Linked DNA regions of Homo sapiens: regions 1, 2, 3, 4, 6 and 7 are each linked to region 5. Evidence: promoter capture Hi-C in 16 types of primary human blood cells and fetal thymus (Javierre and others, 2016). All regions are on one chromosome and are shown on one strand. Each heading gives the region's core, a stretch centred on a gene start or on the middle of the fragment in contact. The rest is flanking DNA. Distances are from core to core; before and after follow the strand shown. Region 1 overlaps WWOX (WW domain containing oxidoreductase). Region 2 overlaps WWOX (WW domain containing oxidoreductase). Region 3 overlaps WWOX (WW domain containing oxidoreductase). Region 4 overlaps WWOX (WW domain containing oxidoreductase). Region 5 holds the start of MAF (MAF bZIP transcription factor). Region 6 overlaps WWOX (WW domain containing oxidoreductase). Region 7 overlaps WWOX (WW domain containing oxidoreductase).

What was found. Contacts are between HindIII fragments. The CHiCAGO score rates a contact against its expected background, and 5 or more counts as called.
Region 1: a fragment that was not itself captured here is called in contact with the fragment with the promoter of MAF in region 5 in 1 of 17 cell types (M1 macrophages); the score reaches 5.2 in M1 macrophages.
Region 2: a fragment that was not itself captured here is called in contact with the fragment with the promoter of MAF in region 5 in 1 of 17 cell types (M0 macrophages); the score reaches 5.2 in M0 macrophages.
Region 3: a contact is called between a fragment that was not itself captured here and the fragment with the promoter of MAF in region 5, in 1 of 17 cell types (M1 macrophages). The highest score is 5.9, in M1 macrophages.
Region 4: a contact is called between a fragment that was not itself captured here and the fragment with the promoter of MAF in region 5, in 1 of 17 cell types (M2 macrophages). The highest score is 5.5, in M2 macrophages.
Region 6: a fragment that was not itself captured here is called in contact with the fragment with the promoter of MAF in region 5 in 1 of 17 cell types (monocytes); the score reaches 8.4 in monocytes.
Region 7: a fragment that was not itself captured here is called in contact with the fragment with the promoter of MAF in region 5 in 1 of 17 cell types (M0 macrophages); the score reaches 5.1 in M0 macrophages.

Annotation. Positions count from the first base shown.
Region 1 is chr16:78,692,650-78,696,084 of GRCh38, reverse strand. The region is part of intron 8 of WWOX (WW domain containing oxidoreductase); the gene reads right to left. Among named protein-coding and RNA genes, the nearest start is that of WWOX-AS2, 190 kb to the right of the region's middle. The HindIII fragment of the contact is 3,096 bases long and covers 623-3,435 here.
Region 2 is chr16:78,762,835-78,766,222 of GRCh38, reverse strand. All of the region lies in intron 8 of WWOX (WW domain containing oxidoreductase), which reads right to left. Among named protein-coding and RNA genes, the nearest start is that of WWOX-AS2, 260 kb to the right of the region's middle. The HindIII fragment of the contact is 4,674 bases long and covers 1-3,388 here.
Region 3 is chr16:78,898,705-78,902,198 of GRCh38, reverse strand. All of the region lies in intron 8 of WWOX (WW domain containing oxidoreductase), which reads right to left. Among named protein-coding and RNA genes, the nearest start is that of WWOX-AS2, 400 kb to the right of the region's middle. The HindIII fragment of the contact is 1,322 bases long and covers 881-2,202 here.
Region 4 is chr16:78,986,955-78,990,720 of GRCh38, reverse strand. All of the region lies in intron 8 of WWOX (WW domain containing oxidoreductase), which reads right to left. Among named protein-coding and RNA genes, the nearest start is that of WWOX-AS2, 490 kb to the right of the region's middle. The HindIII fragment of the contact is 3,260 bases long and covers 1-3,176 here.
Region 5 is chr16:79,599,131-79,602,589 of GRCh38, reverse strand. It overlaps MAF (MAF bZIP transcription factor), which reads left to right and starts at 1,853. Exons shown (of 2, transcript NM_005360.5): 1 at 1,853-3,459. The coding sequence starts at 2,688. LOC101928230 (a long non-coding RNA gene) reads right to left here and starts at 1,703. Exons shown (of 3, transcript NR_188556.1): 1 at 1,601-1,703; 2 at 240-543. RefSeq lists an enhancer at 1,644-1,938. The HindIII fragment of the contact is 16,856 bases long and covers 1-3,459 here.
Region 6 is chr16:78,940,395-78,943,816 of GRCh38, reverse strand. The region is part of intron 8 of WWOX (WW domain containing oxidoreductase); the gene reads right to left. Among named protein-coding and RNA genes, the nearest start is that of WWOX-AS2, 440 kb to the right of the region's middle. The HindIII fragment of the contact is 3,714 bases long and covers 71-3,422 here.
Region 7 is chr16:78,715,569-78,719,064 of GRCh38, reverse strand. All of the region lies in intron 8 of WWOX (WW domain containing oxidoreductase), which reads right to left. Among named protein-coding and RNA genes, the nearest start is that of WWOX-AS2, 220 kb to the right of the region's middle. The HindIII fragment of the contact is 3,600 bases long and covers 1-3,258 here.

The sequences.
Region 1 (3,435 bases), core at 921-3,420, 910 kb after region 5:
AAACTTGACCGTGTATCAGAATCACCCAGAAAGCTTAACACAGACTGCAGCCTACAGGCTCCCACTTCGTCTCCCTCCCCACCAGAGATTCACATTCAGGAGGTCTGGGGCGGGGCCCAAGATCTGCATCTCTAACAAGTTTCCAGGTGATGGTGATGCTGCCGGTCCAGGGACCCCACTTTGAGAACCCCTGGTCTAATTCAGTGCAGCCCCTTTAAGGAATGACATCTGTCCTTCCACAGCGTACCTGATGCACACCCATGGGACATTAAAATATTGGGCACCTGGTCAATGCTCAATATATGTTTTTATTGGTTTTCGTTTTTGTCACAGGTTCCCTGTGTCTGGCTCTTGGTTCTCTTGGCTGACAACTTGATCCTTCATTCCTTTGATCCATTCCTGCATTGCCCCTCTGATTTGGAATACACAGTTTTATTTCCAGCTGTGACCTTGGCTGCTTTCCACAAAGACTCCGACTTGCCAGCATGGCTCTGCTCTCTCTGATCCAGCCCGCTGAACTCTCCTTGGCAGACCATAGCCTCACAGGTGGGATCTGCATGCTACTCTCTGATGAAGTCAGCTAACCGCCCCCATGACCTACTTCTATCATGAAAGACAAGCTTCTCTGCTCCAAAAGAAGGGTATCAATGTGCTCCCGAATCACAGAAAAGAGACACGGCAAATAGGGCAAGAGGAGCAAAAACTCATTCATTGTTTCCTGCTTAAAAAATGAGGGAGGGACATATGGGAGGATTCAAATTGGAGTGAGAGAAAAAGTGGGGGGAAGCTGCTTTGCTCCCCACAACCTAAAATATGTGATTGCCTGTGGATGTAAACACAATAATAATAATAATAATAGAATAATAACAAAAGGGAACTAATACTAGCAGGGTTTTCATACCTTAACAGTACTTTGACAACAAATGTTCATATTTCATTTGAAATTTATGAAACCTTTGTGCCTGTAATCCCACGAGTAGTAACATGGTAAATGAAAGTAGCAGGCAGTCTAGATCAATAATATTTTGCTTCATATTGGAAGAGCATTTGAAAGAAGCAGCTTGCTTCATCTATTCCCTGTGTTTACAATCCTGGTATTGGAATAGACTGGGGCTTCTAAGACTGGCTGGGAAATATTCATAGATGTGTTATTAATTTATGGGAAACTGAAGGACCTACCTCAAGGTTTAAGTAGGCCATTTAGAAAGTGCAGGAAGCAGATGTAAAGATACATAGCAGAATGCAGCGGAAAAAAAAAAAGAGTAGTGGGGTGATTCAGGACTTAAATCAAGAGCAGGAAGAGTAACTTCAAAAAGCTGTAATAGTTGATATTCCAATAAAGCGTTCTTATGAGAAAAAGCAATCTGTTCACATATGAATTCTGCCATATGCTTCTGTCTTTTCATGGTCTAGAAGGCCATGTCAGTAATTTCCAGTATTTACATGGGCATGCAGAATGCCTTTGCTGGTTAATGTGAATAAATGGGCTGGATTTACTGTGTTTCTAGTGTTCAATATACACACCATGCAGGCTGCTACCAGAGGCAAAGTGGAATTTATGGGTTTGCACTGAATTTCAAATGGATACTGGAGCAAAGCAATGGAAAGCAAGACTGACGTGGTGTCTGACGCTTCTCAGTGGAGGCTGCTTCTGCCTTGACAATGGGAAGGGCATTGTTTCAGGAAAGGGAGGAAAAGTCCAGCTAAGAGTGTGGCCCTTTTTGTCAAGTATTTGCAGAAGCAGTAAAGACCATGGTCGCAGCTTGTAGACAGAACCACACTTTCCACAGGTCTCTGGGGGGATCGCTTTGACCCGACCCCTAACCTCTGACTGTACCATTTCTAAATCCATTTTATTTTATTTTATTTTTTGAGACACAGTTTCTCTCTGTTGCCCAGGCTGGAATGAAGTAGTGCGATCTCAGCTCACCGCAACCTCTGCCTCCTGCCTCAGCCTACAGAGTAGCTGGGATTATATGCACACACTACCACGCCTAGGTAATTTTTATATTTTTAGTAGAAACAGGGTTTCACCATGTTGGCCAGGCTGGTCTTGAACTCTGACCTCAACCGATCCACCTGCCTCGGCCTCCTAAAGTGCTGGGATTACAGGTATGAGCCACCACGTCCAGACGTCTAAATCCTTTTTACATCTTGATTTTTTTTCTGTAATGTTGCCGAGTCTGCTTAACTCTGAGAATCTTACAACCACAACTTCAGTGGGAAAAGAGAGGGTATTCACAGCTTAAATAATAATTTACAAGCATGAAGAATGAAATCACATCTTCCCCTAGATCAACAATTCTCAGCCTTGGGGCTGCGCATGTTTAGAGCTGCATAGTTCTCTGTGGTAAGGGCCACCCTGTGCAATAGAGGGCGATTAGTAGCACACCTGCCCTCCATCCACTCGATGCCAATAGTTATGTCACCGCACCACAACCAACAATGTCTCCAGACATTGCCAAATGTTCCCGACAGGTGACATTGTCTCCACTGCCCTAGAGGAGGGCCCCCCACCTGAAATACTACTCTATGACTATTTGGTTCTGTGTATATTTTAAACAAACATAATTATTTCTATTATATTTGTATTATCATGGTTAGGGATTATGTGGAAAAAAATAGAAGCTGGAAAACTGGGACTAAATAGGCATATAGGGTGGCTGACAGAGCAGGCAGCATATTTTTGCAATGGAACTTAGAAGTAATAAAGGAAACAGAGAGAAAATTAACTGGAACACTGAGAAATTCCTCTGAGATATGCAGAGGGTCCTGTGGGTAGTGGTGGGGACGGGAAGCATTCTCTTTGTAGGCTAGACCTCTAGAACCATAGTAAAAACCATGAGGTGGAGATAAACAATGCCCAGCCAGAAATACAGAAAGGCAGTCAATATCTGAGTTGAACAAGAGATGGGCAAATAATTGCTTTTTAAATATACATTGTCTGCAACAAAGCAACATACATTTACAAGCATCTTGCTGAACCTTCCAAGGAAAGAGATCTAAAAGGTTGCTGGCAAGCTCTGGATGGCAAATAAAAATGAATAATATGATGTCCATATGGTTGGGCTTTCAAACTCTTCCGTGGATGCAACCCCATAGCAAAAGGCATCCCCAGGGAGAGAAGGGTGTTTAATAACTCAAGTTTTAGCTTTAAAACACCATGCAAACGATATCTTCTATTACAGAATATTCATGTTTGTTTTTACTATAAACAACATGGCCTATTCACCAAAAACAGTTGTCTCTTTAAGAAAATATGCCTTGGTTTCCAATGACTTCAAATGAACTCTGGTATCAGTACCCCCAACAGGGAAACCTGGGGCCACTCATACCCCAGTTTAAGAAGCATGAAATTAAGAGGGTCTTCTTGTTTCACAGGGATCATAAACAACCTATTTATGGGACTCCACTGGTGACCCTAGTCCTTCAATT
Region 2 (3,388 bases), core at 362-2,861, 840 kb after region 5:
GTGGAATCCTTTTTTGAGTAGCCCAGAAAAGGCCAAGGCACGCAGTATGTCCTGCCCCTGGCAAATGGAACCTGACCCAGTTCCCACCGACTATCAGGGGACGGTATGTGTGACCACACCTCTGACCACAAATCATTCACCCCGTCCCACTCCTTTGGAACTGCTCATGTCATCTGTGTGCCTGGGCTCTGTAAACCTTTTCTGTGCAGACTTGGGTCTCTCCAGCTGTATTTCCTGGATCTAGTCATACTTTTGTTATACTTTCAAGCCACTGGGATCCCTGATCACCCCTCACTCCTCACACCAATGGGCATGGAAGCCACGTAAATTTCTGCCTCCGCAATGCCTGTGCCACCCACTCTGTCCTCTCTGTTCCCTTAGGCTCCACCATCCCAGGGCAGGACAGAAATAGTGCGATGAGTTCTCTGACAGAGGTTGTGATTTTTGCCTCTGTTTTCTCTCCATGCCAGTCCCTCCTCGGCACAACTGCCAGAGTGAACTCATTAAAGCTCACCTTTGCTGTGATCCAACTCTTCTTTTTTTTTAGACAGAGTCTCACTCTGTTTCCCAAGCTGCAGTGCAGTGGCACAATCTCGGCTCACTGCAACGTCTGCCTCCCGGGTTCAAGCAATTCTCCCACCTCAGCCTCCCGAGTAGCCAGGATTACAGGCGCCCGCTATCACACCTGGCTAATTTTTGTACTTTTAGTAGAGATGGGGTTTCACCATGTTGGCCAGGCTGGTCTCGAACTCCTGACCTCAGGTGGTCCACCCGCCTCAGCCTCCCAAAGTGCTGGGATTATAAGTATGAGCCACCGTGCCCGGCCCCGAATCTTACGTGGAAATTTCAGGGCCTCTCACCTGCTTCCTGAAGTCAGAGCAAAGCCCTCACCCTAGTGTTCAACGCCTCTACCAGAAGGTCTCATCACTGTCCCTAAGCCCATCCTCTACTGGGCTCTTCTCATTCCTGACACTTCCTGGACTTTCTGCCTTTGCTCGTGCTGGATCCTCTGCCAGGGATGCCTTTGTTGTCACATATCCCACCCCAATCCCCACACTGTGGGGCCACTGTGATCTGCAGCATCCTTCAAGGACCATCACCCTACCACATCCCCGCACAGCCGCCACCCATCCTCTCCAGGCACTCATTTCGAGATGCTGAGACTTCCCTTCCACTGTCCTGTTGGGCAGGGATCTGGGTTCTTGTCCTGTTCCTTCCTGCATCCCTCAACCATATCTTAAGTTTTCTGAAAGCTCAAAAAATATTGTAAGCAGATGTGTATGCCCTAAAGGCACAATGCAGATAATTCAACACTTGCGTTTTTAAAAGTTATTTTAAAAAAGAACAAGTGTTATATCCATAGTAAACTCAACAAACCTTTGCTATGAGCAACAATATCAAATGAGATCAGACCTAGGTAAGTTGTTTACCGTGTTCAAGACACTGTGCTAGAAACTTTGCAAGCAGTACCTCATTGAATCCTCACAGCCTTAGGAAGGAGGTACTAGAATTGCACCCATTTTGCAGATGAGGAAACTGAGGCTTAGACTGCCACTTGTCTTGGTTATCAAAGGTAATGTTGGAAAGCCAGGAATCAAACCATAGCAGCATGGCTTCCAAACCCACCCGGGGCACGGCACATGTGAGCGAGTAACAGATGAAGGCCAAAGGAGAAATGTCAACACAAGAGGCAGAAAGCAGAGAACACAGGTTCTAGACAAACAGGTAACTGGTTTGGATGAAAACAGTCTTAATTTTACAAACCCACTCCCAGAAGAAGCACCTCCCTACCATACCAATTTCCCTTCCAACAAGAGGACAGAATGCCTCCAAGTGGGCCTGGAGGAGGAGGCGGCCTCCTGTGTCAAGCTCACAGGGAATTAGGACTTGCCAGGTTCTGCAATGCTGACCAAAAGGCCATACTCACTGGACTGGGTGGCAGCTCCTCCCCACGGAGAAATTCTGGCAGGAAGGCGGAGCCGTTTAACAACACCCGGCCGCACTTCAAAACAGGGTAGAGCCGGAAGACTGAGAACAATATGGCACCCTGTAACCTGCTGAGTACAGGAGAAACACAGTGACTTTTCGGCAAAAGTGGTGACACGATTTTTATCCTGGAGCACCAGCTGATCCTACTCACATCAACCCTTCTGGATCTCTCTGAGCAAATATTTCACATATCCTACGCAGCTGGTGCCACTCCAAGCATGATCTGGGCAGAGGCCCAACATGTATCCCAGCCCACAATAGATGTGGGGCAGAGGGAGAGTGGGGCTTCTTCAGCTCAAGAGTGCTAAAGGAAATAGAAGAGGGTTTTGGGGCATTGGGGTGTACACAATTGCATACAGACTCCCCAAAAACTCTGCAGGGCAATTAGAAAGAGGAGAGCCAGCTCTACTATGCTGACAATTATGCTTCGGCTAGGTCTTAACTGAATGCTGGAGAAATTAAGTCAACATGAGATGGGTGAAAAGAAGAATCAAAAGGAATTGAGACAAAACTCGTGAATACCAAATAACAACTTCGTGGAACAAGTATTTAATGAGTACCTAATATGTTCAGGGCACTGTACTAGGTGCTGGGCATACAGTGGTGACCAGGACAGATTTTGTTTCAATGACAGCAACTCGGCAGTGAAAAATACCTTAAGAATCAAAGAACCTGAGTTTGAGAGATTTGGAACAGAGTTTCATACTCTATGTAAAAAATTGCATTCATGTTTCTCTCCCCCAAAAAGTGCCTCTATCCCAAAGAGCCAATGTCTTTTTGGACTATAAACTACTTGAGGTCAGAAGATGTGACCAGGCCACTGCCTGGTAGATAGCAGGTATTCAATGAGTTCTGGATGAACAGAAACAAGTAAATGCTGTAATAAACATGTGAGGGTCGAAGAAGAAATCACATGGGAAATTGGAACATATTTTGAATTAATGAGAATGAAAATACAACATACCAAAATTTGCAGGATGCAGGTAAAGCAGTACTTAGAAGGAAAAGTATCGCTTTGTAATAAACACAGATCAAGCCATACGCCAACTGCTTGAACAATGGTTTTCTGGCCCTTGACTGTAACGCTTTCAGTACTTCAGCTCCCTATCTCCACAGCCTACAATAGTGCTTTGGCACAGAGTAGGTGCTCAGGAAAAATCTGCTTTATTGCAATATGAATGTTCTAGTGTAAGTCCCAGAGTCGTACTCAGTTACCCCTCTGCATATGGAGATCTATTGCTCATCTGGTCCCCCCACCAGGAAAATCTTCCCCAGCCTTTTGTTGTGATTGTTGTTTGTCGTTCTGTTCTCAGCCTTCAATAATAACACTTACCAAACTGGGTGTTAACTACCATGAGTCCTTCAAAGTAGCGTTGCATTTAATATGCCTTAACAAGTA
Region 3 (3,494 bases), core at 292-2,791, 700 kb after region 5:
CAGACACCACCGGATCAGCTGCAGGCTGCCCGATTCTCCAGAAGAAAAATGTTTCCCTTGCTTCCTGCAGAGGTGGATGTAGATGCTGTCTGCCAGCTCTGAAATCTGCACCATTTCCTTCTCCAAGACGATTTTGCCAGCTCTCAACTCCCGCCAACCCAGTAATTTGTGTTGGTCACTATTTCATCCCCTTCTTCCATTTCCTAAGGCAAATCTGCCACTTAGAAATACACACATAATGGAGTGGGAATGGGATTGATCAGCCCAACAGTGAGGTGCGGAGGGACGCCCCTCACTTGATGTACACTCAGATTTGTAGGAGAGGCCCGTGTGAATTCACGTCATCCCTCCTCTATCCTGGGCAGCGACAGACTTGGATTGTACACCAGTGTTTAGAACACTGACTACCTCGCTAGGCGCAGTGGCTCACGCCTGTAATCCCAGCACTTTGGGAGACCATGGCAGGTGGATCGCTTAAGCACAGGAGTTCAAGACCAGCCTGGGCAACATGAAAAAACCGTGTTACTACAAAAAAATACAAAAACTAACCCAGCGTGGTGGCCCATGCCTGTGGTCCTAGTTACTCAGGAGGCTGAGGTGGGAGGATGACTTGAGTCTGGGAAGCACAGGCTGCAGTGAACCAAGATCCTACCAATGTACTCGAGCCTGGGCAACAGAGGGAGATCCTGTCTCACAGGAAGAAAAAGAGAACACTGACTACCAGCTACTTATGAAAAGAAGGAGCAAAACAGAAAATGAAACAGAAGTGGTTGTGGGGAGAGGGAAAAGAACAGGAAAAAAAGAGAAAGAATTAAAGCCAAAATTCCATCCGAAATATTTCCGTGAAAATATTCTATAATGTGTTGGATATTCTAAAGCTTTCATGACATAGTCTTATTTTCACAAACACATACTTTGTGATCTTTTGTCCTCCCACAAACCTTTGGATGATTGCCAGACTATTGCTTTCAAAGTCTATGTCTTCATTCCTTTATCTCCTTCAGCACCTACTCTCATGGATAGGAAGGAACCCGAACTCTGCATTTTGCCCTATGAAAATGGACTCTGAATCCCAGCTTGAAGGAGAAAGGTAATGACTGGGAGAACCGGAACTTCTAGATGTGTGCAAACTCTGATACAAGGGTTGGGTCTGAAAAGAGAGCAGTGGTCCATTCTGTAGAACATGTTCTTGGAAACTTCAAAATATGAACGCTCATGGAAACTGTGGTACCCTTCTAGAGAGATTAATTAGTGCTCTTCTTGGGAATAGAACATTAAAGAGAATATGGGATGAATCTGTATTGTAGCCATCTCCCACAATATCAACTATCTTTTTCTTTTTTTTTTTTTTCAAAAAAAGGCTCTGATTAAAAGTACAATTTTATTTAATATCCTTCAAATAAAAAAGAGAGGTTATTACGTTAGCATGACCACTATGAATATTCTTGAAAGTGGTACTAGTAGAATTGTTTTTTATGATTCCATTGATTCAAAATGAAAAGTGGCATTTGCCAAACATATGATCTGATGAGTAATAGATTTACAAAGCAACCAAAGAGGAAAGACAGGCTGGAAAGAAAATCTATCTGATTATGACTTTGTGGTTTGTGTACTGGTTACAAATAACCTGAAGGCCACGAAATATCCAAATTGGAACCTCTGCTTAGAAAATTCTTATGTGAATAGGGACCTCTGTGGGTTTCTTGAAAGTTGTGAGGCAGGATCTTCACTGTTTCATGAATCACTTTCCTAACAGAAAGTCTCATTTTTAAGGAAAAATAAAAAACAAATTATTTGGGTGCCCAGCAAATTACATGCACAGTTTTTAATAATATGAGCGTGCATACTTGAGTGACAGCTCATTTGGGCTTAAGGCATAGATTTCAACATGTTCAGTGTATGGAGAAACCAGGCTGGAAACTTTCCCCTTCAGTGTCTGAGCTGACACAAAACAGGAGGAGAAAAGACTTTAATCTCGTCATAAACAAATGTACAGGTCTGCATGAAGGTTTACACCCTACTCTGGCAAAATGATGAACGGTTTGTTACTGACTCCTTCATTTAAAAAAACAGTAATAAAGAAATAAAATAGAGAAGGAGCAGCAACGCTCTCTGCAGGAAAAAAAAAAAAAAAAAAAAAAGTCAGGAGGGCTTGTATATTGCACATCTCCGTTTTGGTAGCCCAAGGAGGGAATATAAGCTTAAAGTCCTGAATTTAACAAACCTAATTATCAAGGCTTAATTAGTACCAAGGGTACAGCTTCATGGAACACCTGCAGACTTAATTTATGTCCTGACAGAGAGGAACAAGTGTTAATGGGCTGTATTTATGTTAATACCTGAACCTTAGGAGCCAGTGGAACAAAACAGACCACGCGCTAGTTTTCCAAGCTACAACACAAATATAAAAGATTTTCGTCTTAATGCTGCTTTGCACACAATTCTTCAGGGATCACAGAGATCTCCTTAAACTTTTAAAACTAAAAAGTGGAATATGAAGAAGTAGAGCCGTTCTGGGTATCTGTAAAAGTCTTACAAGATCAACTCACCAACTAGTCATCATATCTTTTATTTAAAATTGACAATGGCGGATGTGGCCAATGTTCCCGTTGTTCAGGATGAGTGTTTCTCAGGACGCTGAAATATAAACCCACTGTTTCCACAGATGCTGTAATATTAAAATAATAACTAACATTTATGGAGAACTCACTGTGTATCAGTCATTGTATTAAGCTCTTCGTACACATTTTCCAGTTACAGATAAAGGAAAGTGACATACGGGGTAAATAAACAGGCCAGGTTTCTAGGAAGTTCAAAGATTTGGAGTTAGGTTTCCGGAACAAATCCTTTTAACCAATGAGCTAAACTCCCTCTAATATGCAGATAGTAAGAATAAGAAAAATATAAAACATATATATATGAACACATTTATAAAAGAACTCTCAGCAAACTAGAAATAAATTCAAACTCCTTAATCTAATGAAGTATAGGTACAGAAAACATACAACTAGCATCACATATAATAGAGAAGTCCTGAATAAAGCAATGATGTCTGTCTCAAAACCTCTGTTCAACACTGTCCTACAGGCTATAGCCAGTGCATTAAAACAAGAAAAAGAAACAAAAGCCATAAAAATTGGAGAAGAAGTAAAACTATATTCAGAGATGTAGAGAATTCTACAGAATCTATTTAACAAAAAGGAAAAGGTGAATAAATAAATTTTAAGATCACAGGATATGAGAGCAGTTTGCTAGAATCAACTGTATTTCTATATATTAGAAACAAACAGTTGGAAAAAAGAAATTTTATAATGCCATTTACAATAGCATAAAAAAATCAAATGTGTAAGAGTTAATTTAACAAAAAAGTATAAGACCTCCACATTCAAAATCATCAAATATCACTGAAATGTTTATAAATAAAGAAGCCTTAAATAAATGGAGAGATGCATGCTCATGGATGGTAACGCTTAACACTTTCAGGATTTTGATCC
Region 4 (3,766 bases), core at 297-2,796, 610 kb after region 5:
CCTTCCTCCTTCCTTCTTCCTTCTTTCCTCTATGTGCTTCTCCCTCTCTCTTTTTCCTTCCTCCTTTTTCTTCTTTCATTTTACTTTATCACATTCTGGCCTGTTCGCTCTACCATCTTACAACTTGGGTGGTGATGGAATTACCCTGGGGCTTTGGGGGCTCCCCGGTGTAAACAAAGAGCTGTTGTCAGTGTGATGTGCATTTTGGCATTGATAGAATGCAGGCCACAGAGTTTGCAGTAACACAGCTGTTGACCTTTAGTAGCTCCGGACTCTGGAAATCCACTGAAGCTAGACAGCCATTCCCTAGCCCAGAACTAGGTCGTGCAGAGAACAGTTGAGGCTCCTCAGGCTGCGGACAGGGCCCTTCTCAAGGCACAAGGAGGATCTTGCAGAGCCCATGACTTAGAACCAATGCACAGTCAGGCTTCATGGAAAACAGGCAGCAATTACAAAGCATGGGGGGAATGGAGGCCCTTAATCTGAGATGCTGATCAGTTGAGCTCAACCTCTCTCTCTTTTTTTTTTTTTTTTGGTGAGACAAGGTCTCCCTCTGTCACCCAGGCTGGTGTGCAGTGGCAAGGTCATGGCTCACTGCAGCCTAGACTTCCTGGGCTCTAAAGATCCTCCCACTTCAGCCTCCCGAGTAGCTGAGACTACAAGCGTCTGTCACCAAGCCCAGCTAATTTTTGTATTTTTTGTAGAGATGAGGGCTTTGCCGTGTTGCCCAGGCTAGCCTCGAACTCGTGAGTTCAAGCAATTTGCTCGCCCCGGCCTCCCAAAGTGCTAGAATTACAGACATGAGCCACTGTACCTGGAATCCCCCGCCTCTCTTTCCCTCCATCTGTCTCTCTCTCTCTCAATCACACACACACACACACACACACACACACACACACGCTCACACACCACCTCTGTCTCACTTTGCTTCCTCTCACTTCCTCCTGGGCCAGCCCCATTACTCTCAGCATCTCACCGCCCTCTTTGCACACCTGCTCCATTCTCTCTCCTGCTCTGCTTCTGGCTTACTCATGCTCTCTGCTCCCTAACACCCTTCTTGCAAAGGGTCCCAACTGGATGCCCAATTCCTGAATCCACAAGACTGCTCAGTCTCAGTATTTATCCCCAAACACAAGTCTTTTTCTGTGTCTTTCAGTTCACATTTTTGAGAGCTGAACCACACAGGAGTCCACTGCTGGCCCCACTACCTTTGACTGGTGGTGGAGCCATGGGCGCTATGGACAGGGATCCCCAGCCTGCAAGCCAGCATGGGCAGGATGCCTGGATGCAATATTTGTGGTGCTGTTAAGATTCTGCAGGGTGGTTTGACTGCATCAGGGCCATTCTATCTTGGGGATCCAAGGAAGCAAAGATGAGTTCATCAGACATATATATAAGCTAATGTATTTAGCTCTTGATATTGAACTAATCAAACTAAAAAGAAGGCCTTCTAATTGAATTAGAATTCTTAGAACCACCCGAAGAGGAAAGATGGTTAGTGGATGGGGGCATCCAAGATGGAACACTATTCCCAATTACTCACTAACCCTGGGGAGATACAATAAGGGTTCAGCATCTTCAGAACTCTAAATATGCTGATAATTTTAGTAATTAAGGACTCCAAAAAGGGATCATTGTTAGTCCCAAAGCTCTACAAGTTAAATGGCTTACTCTGAATCATCGAACTCAGGATGATTACTTCCTCCTTGTTTTAACAGAGAACTCAGGTTGTACAGGAACTCAGGAATTCTCCTGCCTAGTTCCTGAAGCAAAATGAAACCTTCCAACAAAGCTGAAAAGAAGCACGTGTATCTGCTTTGCCTGACTGCCCACCAGAGCTCGTTTCTCCACTGATCGATTGGGGCTCGCAGCAACATGCTGGCCCCAGGGATGCACACAAGCCACGGCTGAGAAAGGACAGGCTGGGAGTGGGGCACAGACTACAGCCACCGGTCTTTCTCTCTGGGAAGAAACTAACTTGACAGCTATGCAGGAATCTCCCATTTCCCTACCCAAATGCACTTTCCATCCTTCTGTACTGGTCTTCGTGCCTGAAAAAGTTGACCAATATGAACACATCAGTAACTTCCTTTTGCCATCTGGTTTCTAGCAGGGCTTGAACAATGGCAAAGAGTTGAAGGGGCGGGGATGTTTATTCCGCTGGGACCTCTCCTGGGGAGAGGGAGTATTACCAGTGGTAGGCTGAATTCCTCAACCAAAGGTTACAGCTCCTTCCAAGGAGTCTTCTCCATCCTGGCACCTTCAACTGTCTCCAGTATCTGCTCCCTCTCCTTGGCCAAGGATGGTGACAGCCACCCCTATTACTACCTCTGAGAAATTAATTTTCTTTCTTTTTTTTTTTTTTTTATTTTTTTTGAGACAGAGTTTTGCTCTTGTTGCCTGGGCTGGAGTGCAATAGCGTGATCTTGGCTCACTGCAACCTCTGCCTCCCGGGTTCAAGTGATTCTCCAGCCTCAGCCTCCCGAGGAGCTGAGATTACAGATGCCTGTCACCATGCCCAGCTAAGTTTTTGTATTTTTAGTAGAGACGGGGTTTCACCATGTTGGCCAGACTGGTCTCAAACTCCTGACCTCAGGTGATCCACCAGCCTCGGCCTCCCAAACTGCTGGTATTACAGGCGTGACCCACAGCACCAGACCAGAAATTCGCTCTCTTTTATGTTTCCCTACACCTTGACCACCCCCCCTTTATAAAATAGCCCCTTTGTTATTAAAATTTCTTGAAATTACTCAATTTGGGTTTGTTACCTCTTTCCCACTGGGACTACCATGGATACAGAAGGGACATGACGAGACCTGTGGTTTCACCGGAATCATGTTGTAAGCAGCAAAGCCCACAGGGCTGATTCACTGTTTAAACAGCAAGGTGGGAAAGTCCTGCTGGAAATTTTTGGAGAGCACATTTTTTAAAAGTTGACAAGTTCATCAGCCCAAGAAGAAAAGGACACAGAGAGTTTGGGCCGACATATCGCAACTCTCATTAGCGCGAAATGAATTCACGTTACTCTGCCTCTGAACATGGAGGGCCCTGTACAGAAACAAAGACATATGCACCATCATGCAAAAAAGCCACTTGAAACATGAGGGAGCATAGAGGAAAGTCCTTGAAGAGGTCTTTTCCAATTTTTCTCAACCCACATATTTTATAGGAAAGCTTTAAACTCTCACTAAAACAATGGATTAAAAAATGAGAAACCCTCCTTCCAGTTTCACAATCCATTTGTCTCATCCTCTCGAGAGTTGCTAGAAAAAAGAAAAAAGGACAAAATACGTGGCAGGAGCTCCAGCATGAACAAACTTGAAAAATCCTGCCTTTGCTAGGAAAATATTCTTAAATTTTCAAACACATTCCAACCTACCCGATACAAGGTACAAAAAGATCATTGTCAAAACAAAGCAAAACCACTCACATGCCAAAGATCATGGAACCTAAAGCAATCAATAAAGCCAGGACTGAGTTAATAAGCACAGCCTACTTATAAACTGACTCGTCTTTTGGTTTGTGATGCAGGGAGACATTAAATTTCAAAGACCTCCCGTGTGCTTCTGAAAATTACAAATGAGAAATATTGGAGTCCTATACTGCTATCAAAGTGGCAAGTTAGTTCTCCTTAAAAGCTGTACTTAAATAACCATGGCGCTGTGTCCTTTAAGAAAGCCCTAGGATCATTTCCCCAGCCAGCCTCCTCTGATCCCTCTCTGCTCCGTGTGGGTAAGTGCACTGTACCTCCTGACCATGCTCTTGG
Region 5 (3,459 bases), core at 604-3,103:
GAAATTACACCCCGAGGGTGTCTGTATCCCCTGGCCTCTTTGTCAACAATCAAGGAGAAGAGGAGGGGCAAAAATGATCTCTGCATCTGCCAGCACTTTCTTCGGCCCCTTTCCTATAGGGTCGGGTTCTCCCACTTCAGTCAAACTAACTTTGTGTGTCTCTTTCCTCCTCCCACACTGGGTAACCAGCTGCTTTTCACTTCATCGACAAAACTGGACACGGATCAATTTCAACTGACCTTTGCCGAAAGGTGGCGCTGTTGAGGTAAAAACCAACTCGCTCCAACAATAGTTTCCACTCTTCGATCCTTTTGCAGGCTTTTCAGAATTTTTTTTTTTTTTTAATGCACCCTCCTAGCGTCTCCCCCTTCTCATAAAGTAAAATAAATACGATTAAAAACACCAAATGCATTTCATTAATTGAAGGAATCAACAGTCCCAACTTCTAAGCAGACGGGCTGGTCTTCCAAAGGCTGGGTCGGTTTCAGGAGCTTTCTCTCCAAATAAATCTCTGCTTCTTCGACTTGCCTATCGCTTTAAAATCTTAGAAACAGAGTTAGTTGTTGGTTTCCTTCTTTTTTCTTTTTCTTTTTTATTTCTTTTTTGCATAAACTTTTAGAGAATCAATCTAGAAATTTGAACTACTTATTAGCATTTGCAACTGGGGGTGGGGGGAGCAGCCTCCCCCACCCCACCCCCCACTCTGCGTTTCCGGACTAGTTCCAGAAACCGCGGTTTAAAATTTAACCCTTCGAGGGTAGCTGGTGAGGGCTGGGGTATTGTTTTTCCCCCTTGCTCCCTGCCACGATCAAGTCCGAAATAATTAAAGGAAACGTAAAAGTGCAAAGGGCGCGCCTGACCCTGATAAACAGAGGTCAGATTTCGTAAGGGGACGGGTGAGTGTGAGTGTGTGTGTGTTTGTGTGTGTGTGTGTAAGAGAGAGAGAGAGCGAGCGCGCAATATGAGTCTCAAAGGCCAAACTCCGGCCAGTCAGGAGCCGGAAGGCTGAGCCCGGCTGACCTGACTTTGAGCTTCCCCGGAGTTATCTCGCATAGGCGCTCGCTCTGTCCAAGGGCACGCGACGCCAGCGGGCAGCCGGTCTCCGTGAAGAATGGCCTCTAAACAACTTATTTTACCTCGTTGTAAAGAGAGGGATAAAATGGGCTTTCCCTCTCCACGGATGCCCAGCCTTCTGGGCAGGCGCATGGCCGGGCGGCGCCCAGCCCGCAGCCCCGATCCGGACACCCCACTGCATCCCTCCCTTCCCGGTCCCTTCCCCGCACGGGCGCCCGAGAGACGGACAAAGAGTTGGGGCCAAGTTTGAGCGCCGGGCACGGCCAGGCTCAGGGAAGGAAGGTCCCCGGCAGACACCTGGGTACCAGAGTTGGTGCGAGGAGGAAAAGCTGGGAGGCGAATTCACAATCCTGGGGGTGGAGGGCAGGCAGGGGAGGGGAATCAGGCCAATCCCAGCCGAGTGAGCCCCCAGCGAGCTGGGGCTCCGGATGGGAGGCCTGTCTCGCGCTCCAAAGAAAAGCAAACCGCCCTCCCAGGTCCGCCCGGATTGCCGAAGCCCCTCTGGAAAAACTCCTTCCCCTCTTACACCAAACTTTGCGCCGGGCCTCGTTCCCTCCCGGGTAGGCAGCGGCGCAGGAAGGGTTAAGCCAGCCCGTCCCAGCTGACAGTCAGCTGATTGGGCCCTGATTGACAGCTCCGAAAAGTTTCCTTGTTTCTATACTATTATGCTAATCGCGGCCGCTCTCGCCGCCTCCCATTGGCCCGGAGTGCCAGTCAATTTCTCATTTGGACCTGACGTCACGAGTGCTATAAAACTCAGCAATTGCTTTAAACTCTTCTTGCTGGATCAGAGGCTTTAAAATCTTTTTTCATCTTCTAGCTGTAGCTCGGGCTGCTTGTCGGCTTGGCCTCCCCCTCCCCCCTTTGCTCTCTGCCTCGTCTTTCCCCAGGACTTCGCTATTTTGCTTTTTTAAAAAAAGGCAAGAAAGAACTAAACTCCCCCCTCCCTCTCCTCCAGTCGGGCTGCACCTCTGCCTTGCACTTTGCACAGAGGTAGAGAGCGCGCGAGGGAGAGAGAGGAAAGAAAAAAAATAATAAAGAGAGCCAAGCAGAAGAGGAGGCGAGAAGCATGAAGTGTTAACTCCCCCGTGCCAAGGCCCGCGCCGCCCGGACAGACGCCCGCCGCGCCTCCAGCCCCGAGCGGACGCCGCGCGCGCCCTGCCTGCAGCCCGGGCCGGCGAGGCGAGCCCTTCCTTATGCAAAGCGCGCAGCGGAGCGGCGAGCGGGGGACGCCGCGCACCGGGCCGGGCTCCTCCAGCTTCGCCGCCGCAGCCACCACCGCCGCCACCGCAGCTCGCGGAGGATCTTCCCGAGCCTGAAGCCGCCGGCTCGGCGCGCAAGGAGGCGAGCGAGCAAGGAGGGGCCGGGGCGAGCGAGGGAGCACATTGGCGTGAGCAGGGGGGAGGGAGGGCGGGCGCGGGGGGCGCGGGCAGGGCGGGGGGGTGTGTGTGTGAGCGCGCTCGGAGGTTTCGGGCCAGCCACCGCCGCGCAAGCTAGAAGCGCCCCAGCCCGGCAAGCTGGCTCACCCGCTGGCCACCCAGCACAGCCCGCTGGCCCCTCTCCTGCAGCCCATCTGGCGGAGCGGCGGCGGCGGCGGCGGCGGCGGCAGGAGAATGGCATCAGAACTGGCAATGAGCAACTCCGACCTGCCCACCAGTCCCCTGGCCATGGAATATGTTAATGACTTCGATCTGATGAAGTTTGAAGTGAAAAAGGAACCGGTGGAGACCGACCGCATCATCAGCCAGTGCGGCCGTCTCATCGCCGGGGGCTCGCTGTCCTCCACCCCCATGAGCACGCCGTGCAGCTCGGTGCCCCCTTCCCCCAGCTTCTCGGCGCCCAGCCCGGGCTCGGGCAGCGAGCAGAAGGCGCACCTGGAAGACTACTACTGGATGACCGGCTACCCGCAGCAGCTGAACCCCGAGGCGCTGGGCTTCAGCCCCGAGGACGCGGTCGAGGCGCTCATCAGCAACAGCCACCAGCTCCAGGGCGGCTTCGATGGCTACGCGCGCGGGGCGCAGCAGCTGGCCGCGGCGGCCGGGGCCGGTGCCGGCGCCTCCTTGGGCGGCAGCGGCGAGGAGATGGGCCCCGCCGCCGCCGTGGTGTCCGCCGTGATCGCCGCGGCCGCCGCGCAGAGCGGCGCGGGCCCGCACTACCACCACCACCACCACCACGCCGCCGGCCACCACCACCACCCGACGGCCGGCGCGCCCGGCGCCGCGGGCAGCGCGGCCGCCTCGGCCGGTGGCGCTGGGGGCGCGGGCGGCGGTGGCCCGGCCAGCGCTGGGGGCGGCGGCGGCGGCGGCGGCGGCGGAGGCGGCGGGGGCGCGGCGGGGGCGGGGGGCGCCCTGCACCCGCACCACGCCGCCGGCGGCCTGCACTTCG
Region 6 (3,422 bases), core at 678-3,177, 660 kb after region 5:
CAAACAGTGATGTGCGGTGGGAAAGATTTCCCCTTCAAATTGTGGGATCCAGAAGGAGTTGCAGGAAGCTTAATGGTCTTGGCAGGGCTACCTTTTACTGCTGGTCCCATCCCTGCAATCGCACACCCTGCTACTTTTCCAGTGTCCTACACTCTTCTGGATTTTTTCAGCTGCGTCCAGGCCATTGACGGGGCCACACAGAGTGGAGCCATCGCCCTCTATTTTGTTTGTTTCCCAGGACTGATCAATGGTGATGTGTCAGAAACTGCAAGAGCAAGGCTGCTCTGATAAAGCTCGATAACCCCATGGCTTGGAAGATCTGATAACTCAGCTGCTCTGCAAGTTTATGTGCCTGGGTCCTCCCTGTTTCTCCCTCTAGGAGTTCTCCAGGTCTGGATGGGTTATCTGGCCTGGGGGAGTGGCGATGCAGTCGGAGGAGATGAACAGTTAGTGAATAAGAGTGTAATCTTGAATGCCAAAGGGTTTGGATCTCGGGTTGCTTTTTACTCGTTTAGCGTACCTCATTCTCCTTATCCAGGAAATGGGCACAATAACGCCTGCCTCCCGGGATCTTTTTTAAGATTAAACAGAAAAAGGAAGAGGTTATTTGTAAAGTGCAAAATGAAATGTACATCATATAGAAAGCACTCAAATGACAACTATTATTTAAGAACCCACCATGTGTTGCCACCTTGATTCGCTGTCTAGCTAAAACTTTATAGCAATTTAAAATAGTTGCCGTCATTGCCCTTATTTAACAAAACAGGAAGCAGAAGCAGGAGAGATAAGCAAAAATAAACGCAGAAAGGCAGGCTTTCATTCAAAGTTGATCTGATACAAATCCAAGACTGCTGCATTATTTACTTGCAAATGAATATCTTATTTCCTTGAGAGAGAGGAGGGGATGGGCAGTCAGCAAAGAAGCAAAGAACATCTCTTTCTAAAGAGCTGTCTTTGACCTAGGACCTGAGCCACGGGATTTGGAATTCATCCCTTCCGGGAAACCAGAGAGAAGTGCATGAACGGATTTCTCAATTTCTTGCTCATGTTTGCCTGCACAATGATGTCTCAAAATATTTCTCCCCTATGTCTTGCGATGACCATCAAGTTCAGTTAGTTAAGTTCAAGGTCCTCATTAGTGCTCATTCCATTCCATTTTCTCTTCATGCCACGTGTGAAAAGTATGTCTCAAACTTTCTGAGATGAAGTACCTTTAAAATGTAACGCTCTCCTTGATTGTCTGAAATAATGTATTCTGGTGGGTTTTTATTAATTCCTTGCTTTACCCCCATCCCACTGCCCAGAGAGCTACGGGAATCAATTTTTCTTCTGTCTTCTTCTTATGATTATTTGGGGCAACAGACTTATCTTCAAACTGCTGTCATACATTTTTACAGTGTGTCCTCAAAACTGCTCCCGAGAGTGCAAAAGAGAGTATCAAATATGCAAGGGGTAGGCTGCGCTAGAGGTTCTTGACTTTTCAATCAGCTTGATGACTTTTAACCCCTTACAAATGAAGAAAAATTCTTCAAGATGGCTTGGCAGCACGAGGAACAACTAGAATTATTTAAGAAGCCTACTACTTTAAAGGGAATTGACTATACCAAACTCTTTAACTATGTCAAGAACACACAAAGACGCACCCACTCTGCTTCTCCATACCAATCACATCCAAGCTACTAGAAAAGGAGGGCGCTTCCGTGTTAGAATCACAGTCATACGTAATTTGAACTTGGGCATACTAAAGAGTAACTACCTATCAGCGGCTAGACCAGGCGAGGTAGAGAGTGGGAAAGAAATGCTCGCCAATACTTCCACCCACTTTATTTCCCAATGACCCACATTCATCTACATTTTCCTACGGAATACAGCACAATGTTTACAGTAAAAAATAAAACCAAAGAACTTAATCAGCGCCGTAATTAAATTAAGGCCTAAATAAGTGGGCAAAAAGAACCACCATGATTACAAAAAAAGAAAAAATAGTAGTAAAAGCACAATCCTTGACTTACATGAAGTACTTCTTTTATTTGATTATGATACCTTTTTTAAAAATATAATTTCATTGTAAGGCGATTAACTGCCTTTTCAAACCTGGGAAAGGAAACCTGAGAATTTCTTCTTTCCTGTGAGTAGGGGGGATGCAAATACAATGTACTGCAGGAATAACAAATGCTCTATTTTCTGAGCACTCTCCTATGATTTATGAAAGGTGTACCTCACTGTGGGAAGATAATGCCATTTGAAATGGTCCATTTCATAACTCTATCCCCCCGTCCCCAGCTTCATACAGGACTACTATGAACTCCTGAATCCAATAATGTTTTCACCCTCTACTGACAAAAAAAAAAAAAGGACTTTGTTCGGAGGAAGGTAATGATGCGCTTACGAGGAGCAACGGCTAACGCTCTGTCTCCAGGGCTTTCTTTGGCAATGGCCACGGAGCTTCCAAGGCGGGGAAACTTGGATAAACAAAATGAAGAAATAATCAACATGCGCGACATCCCTAATGTCCTTTTACTGCTAGTGGCATTAATTATAGCACGGGCCCAATCCTCCAAGCGACCGCAGAACCAAATGTTTTGCCTGAACACGCTCTCCACTACATGATAGATTTATCCTTTGCAACTGGGATATTTCCTATTCATTCATGCACCAGTTCAGTATATCTGCTTGTTAATCTAACTGCAAGAACGCTTTCTAGAAGAGGATTCTTTGCAAGATGTGAGGCAATCAGGGACCAATCATAAACTTCAGTGAAATTCATGGCTGTGAGTCTTTCTGGTCATAACAAGGGAAAAGTGATATATACATCCCAACACCATGCAGGTTCCAGAAGACCCTTATGAAATATGAGTGGGATGGGGTGGGGGGGCAGAAGAAAATTCCTTGGGATCCAAGCAAATGGACAGCATAGACATGAAGAGTGACTGAAAATACATGATCGATACAACTTATTAGAATGAAGCTGTACATTACACCGGGATCAACCTCTTCTCTTGAAAGACTCTAAGGACCAGGATAAGAGGACAATAAGATAACAAACAGGGACTTGACGTCATGAATACTGAAAGGGAAAAAAAAAGTAACCCCGCTGGGTAGATATGCTTTGTGGTCATTCAAAAGGAAAAAAAAAAAAAAAGTTAACCTAAGAAAAGAAAGAAAGACATATGTGCACATGCCTGTTTAGGGATATTTTAACTTCTGTGGAGATTAGAGCATTTGAGAAAACCTATATACCCCCACTCAGGTACTAATGGATTAAGAAGCAGATGGAACACGGGATGTCGATGGAAATGATGTAAAAATGTGACTTCGAAAGAACTCCTAACACCGGATACTCCTCCTGATTCTGGAATTTGCATATTTTGACTTGTATCTAAAAAGCAATTTCAAGGTCAGCTTTGGTAGAGAAACACTGA
Region 7 (3,496 bases), core at 209-2,708, 880 kb after region 5:
TTTAGCTCTGTTGGAACTAAGTTCTACTTGTCCCTTCACCCACCTAACCCCCCTGCTACCAAGAGTGCCTGGGATCTTACAGACTCAAAAAAATGTGAATGAGTGGTTAGTGCAGATTATTTCAAGAGAGCCCCAGATGCCATGTTCTTTAGGTCATGAGTCAGCCCCATCCACCCCTCCCCAATTCTTCACCTTTACCTCCTCAGTCACATCCATGCCTTTATTCATGTCTCCTCCAAAGGAACCAATAGAATAATTCCTGGCATATATTAGTGTCTCAATAAATATGTGTCACCTAAATGAATACTTCTTTTAAAAAAACATCCTTCAGAAACATTGGAACTCTCCTAAGCTATCTAGGTAGTGTCTCACTATGTTGGCCAGGCTGGAGTGCTGTGGTGTGATCATAGCTCAGGGTAGCCTCAAAATCCTGGGCTCAAGGGATCCTCCCACCGTCACCCTCCAGAGTACCTAGGATTAGAGGCATGGACCACCCATGCTTGGCTCAGTGTATTAATTTTCTAAAAGATAAATTTTTCTGACTGGCAAATTCATTTTTATTGAACATCATGTGTTCTACTCAAATATGGGAAAGAGAACCCTCCTATTCAGTTATAAAGTTTGGCTCCAACTCAAGTGAGCAAAAAAACATTAAATTTATTTAACTCCAAATACTATAAAAACACAATGATAACTTCTGAGCTAGTCGTTTTTTTAAATTTTTTTGGCACCACAATAATTCTTTTATGATGGTATCCAGTGAGAATCCCTCACGGACTTTTCTCTTAACATGGAAATGCATATGGTCTCTGTGGTACAACAGCTGTGTAACTACATAATTGTTTACAAATGTGCAAATTAAGTACCCAAACCAATAAAAAATAATAACTTGGGCAGCCATAAAAAAGAGATACTATAAACATGCAATGGCCCATACTTTCTCTATAAATAACCGTTGAGGCAAAAATACAACCACCAGAACCCCTTGTTTGAAATCCCCTTCCATAAAGCAAATAACGTTTGCAGTCTGGCAGGCTAATACCATTGTGCTTTCCCAAGCAAAAATGCTTATTAACATTTATCATTTAGATGCCATTAAAGTAACTGTAGTAAAAGTGGATCCATTTACAATAAGACACTTGGTGTTGGGTCCACTATGTCGTGAATAGGTTTCAAACCAGTACACAGCTCCTTCCTCATCACCAAACAGGTGGGAAAGACAGAGAGGGAAATATAAATAGCAGGAAGGAGAAAAACCACAGGGCATCCTTCTAAATATGTTCCCACCTACCTCCATCCTAATCCTCGATTAGATCCATCAGAGTCCAACCCAAAGGAAGCCGGCATTGGAGTATCAAAGAAGCAATGAAGTCTTGCCCTTCAGTGCCTCTTCTTGGAAAACCCCTCTTTCATTCCATTCTGTCTCCTCCGTGTGTCTGGGGAAACTCCTATTCATTCATCAAAACCCAACTCATTAATCTCTTCCACCAGGAAACCTTCTTTGTCCACCATCAAAGAGAGCAAATCACATCCTTCACAGCAGACCCTTCCAACAGTTCATATACTTAATACACATTTGTTGACCACCTACCAAAAGCCAAGCACCACTGTTCAAAAGGTGCTAAAGCCATAGCAATGAACAAGATAAGGAGCTCAGTCTATAAGTCAATGAATATATACAGTGTAATATTAAGCAGGATTGTATTACATTATTTCAATTACATTATTGCAAGTTCTGCACTTATTGTAATTATTATGCTGTCTCTCCCAGTAGGCTCTTAACTACTGGATCTCTATATTCCATGGTTTTCCAATTTAGCAATGCTTAATGAATTGATTTAAATTAAATTTAAAAAACACACTTACTCTTGGTATAGTCTAGGTCAACCACTAAGCCTGGGGAGACAGACTAGATTTACACAGAGCACCTCTGTTCTCAGGGAGCTTACAGCCATCTCTTGGAATAATCACTGTCATCACCATGTGATGAAGCCATTTACCCTTTTAAACTTTTCAGAGAAAACATTACTTTCTGTTGTCCTCACAGACAACCATGGGAGGTGTTATTAGCCTAATTTTACGACTGAGAACATCAAGACATTCCTTATCCTCTGATCTTGGGAAAGGGGGCAGGATATGCCCTTTTGAAACTGAAAATAAGATAATAAACATGAAGCCAGTGAGATCAGGTAAAGCAAACCTGGCTGAAGCTGCACACAGCTGTGGTTGCGTAGGGAGGGTAAGCTCAGGCTATGGACCAAGACAATGCTGGGCCACGTTTCTCCAGGACTATAAGGAAGATCCTGCAATTCGAATAGAGACGCTTTTTTTTCTGTTCCACACCTCTAAGAAAATCTCTCTGGAGGTGGTCCCATGATTCTCCTTGGGTGTGATGTCACCCAAGGAGCAGCACAGTGAGAGGAGCGTTATCACAGAACCTATAGAGATGAGGGTTATCACAGAACCACACGAACTTGCCTGGCAGGGGCTGGGAAGACACTGGCATGGAGTACACACAGGTGACATAGGGACCCAAAAGTGAGGGCATCCCCTAAAATAAGCAGTGCATCATCTTCCTCTGCCAAATAACACTCATCTTGAAGGGCAGGCAGCATTTGGCAGGAGCATTCATCCCTAGGGTTGCTGCAGAAAGCTACTGCACACTGGGTGGCTTAGAACAGCAATGTACTCTTTTGCAGTTGCGGAACCCAGAAGTCTGAAATCAAGGTGTCAACAGGGCCACATTCCCTCCAAAGGCTGGAGGGGAGGATGCTTCCTGCCTTCAGGAGCTTCTGGCAGTCCCAGACATTCCCCCGTTCATGATAGCACAATTTCAATCTCTGCCTCTGCCTCTACACGGCCCTATGTTTTTCTTCACATCATCTTCCCTCTATCTCTGCCTCTGTCTCTGTGCCCAAAATTCCCCTTTATGTGCATATTGGATTAGGGCCTATCTTAAGGACCTCATTTCAATGTGACTGTCTGATTTTTTTTTTCCCCTTTCCTTTAGACATTCCTCTTGATGATAATGATTATCAGAATGCATCATCCCTGGGACCACCATAATTTCTTGCTCAAACCTCTGTAATACCTCTGGTGGTGGACATTTAGGTTAGAGGCCCTATCAGCCCTTCCCAAGGCTCTACCTCTGGCAGGCTTCCATCGTATCCCAGCATTCCTTGCAGCTCAGGGGTCATGTGACACAGCCCATGCCAAATAGACACATGCAGAAGGGAGTTGATAGATTCTAGAAAAGCTTTTGCTTTTCCTGATAAAATGGTCAGACACGGCTGGGCACGGTGGCTCATGCCTGTAATCCCAGAATTTGGGGAGGCCAAGGTGGATAGACCACCTGAAGTCAGGAGTTCGAGACCAGCCTGGCCAACATAGTGAAATCCTGTCTCTATTAAAAATACAAAAAGCTGGGTGTGGTGGCATGTGCCTGTAATCCCAGCTACTCGGCTGAGGCAGGAGAATCGCTTGAACCCAAGAGGCG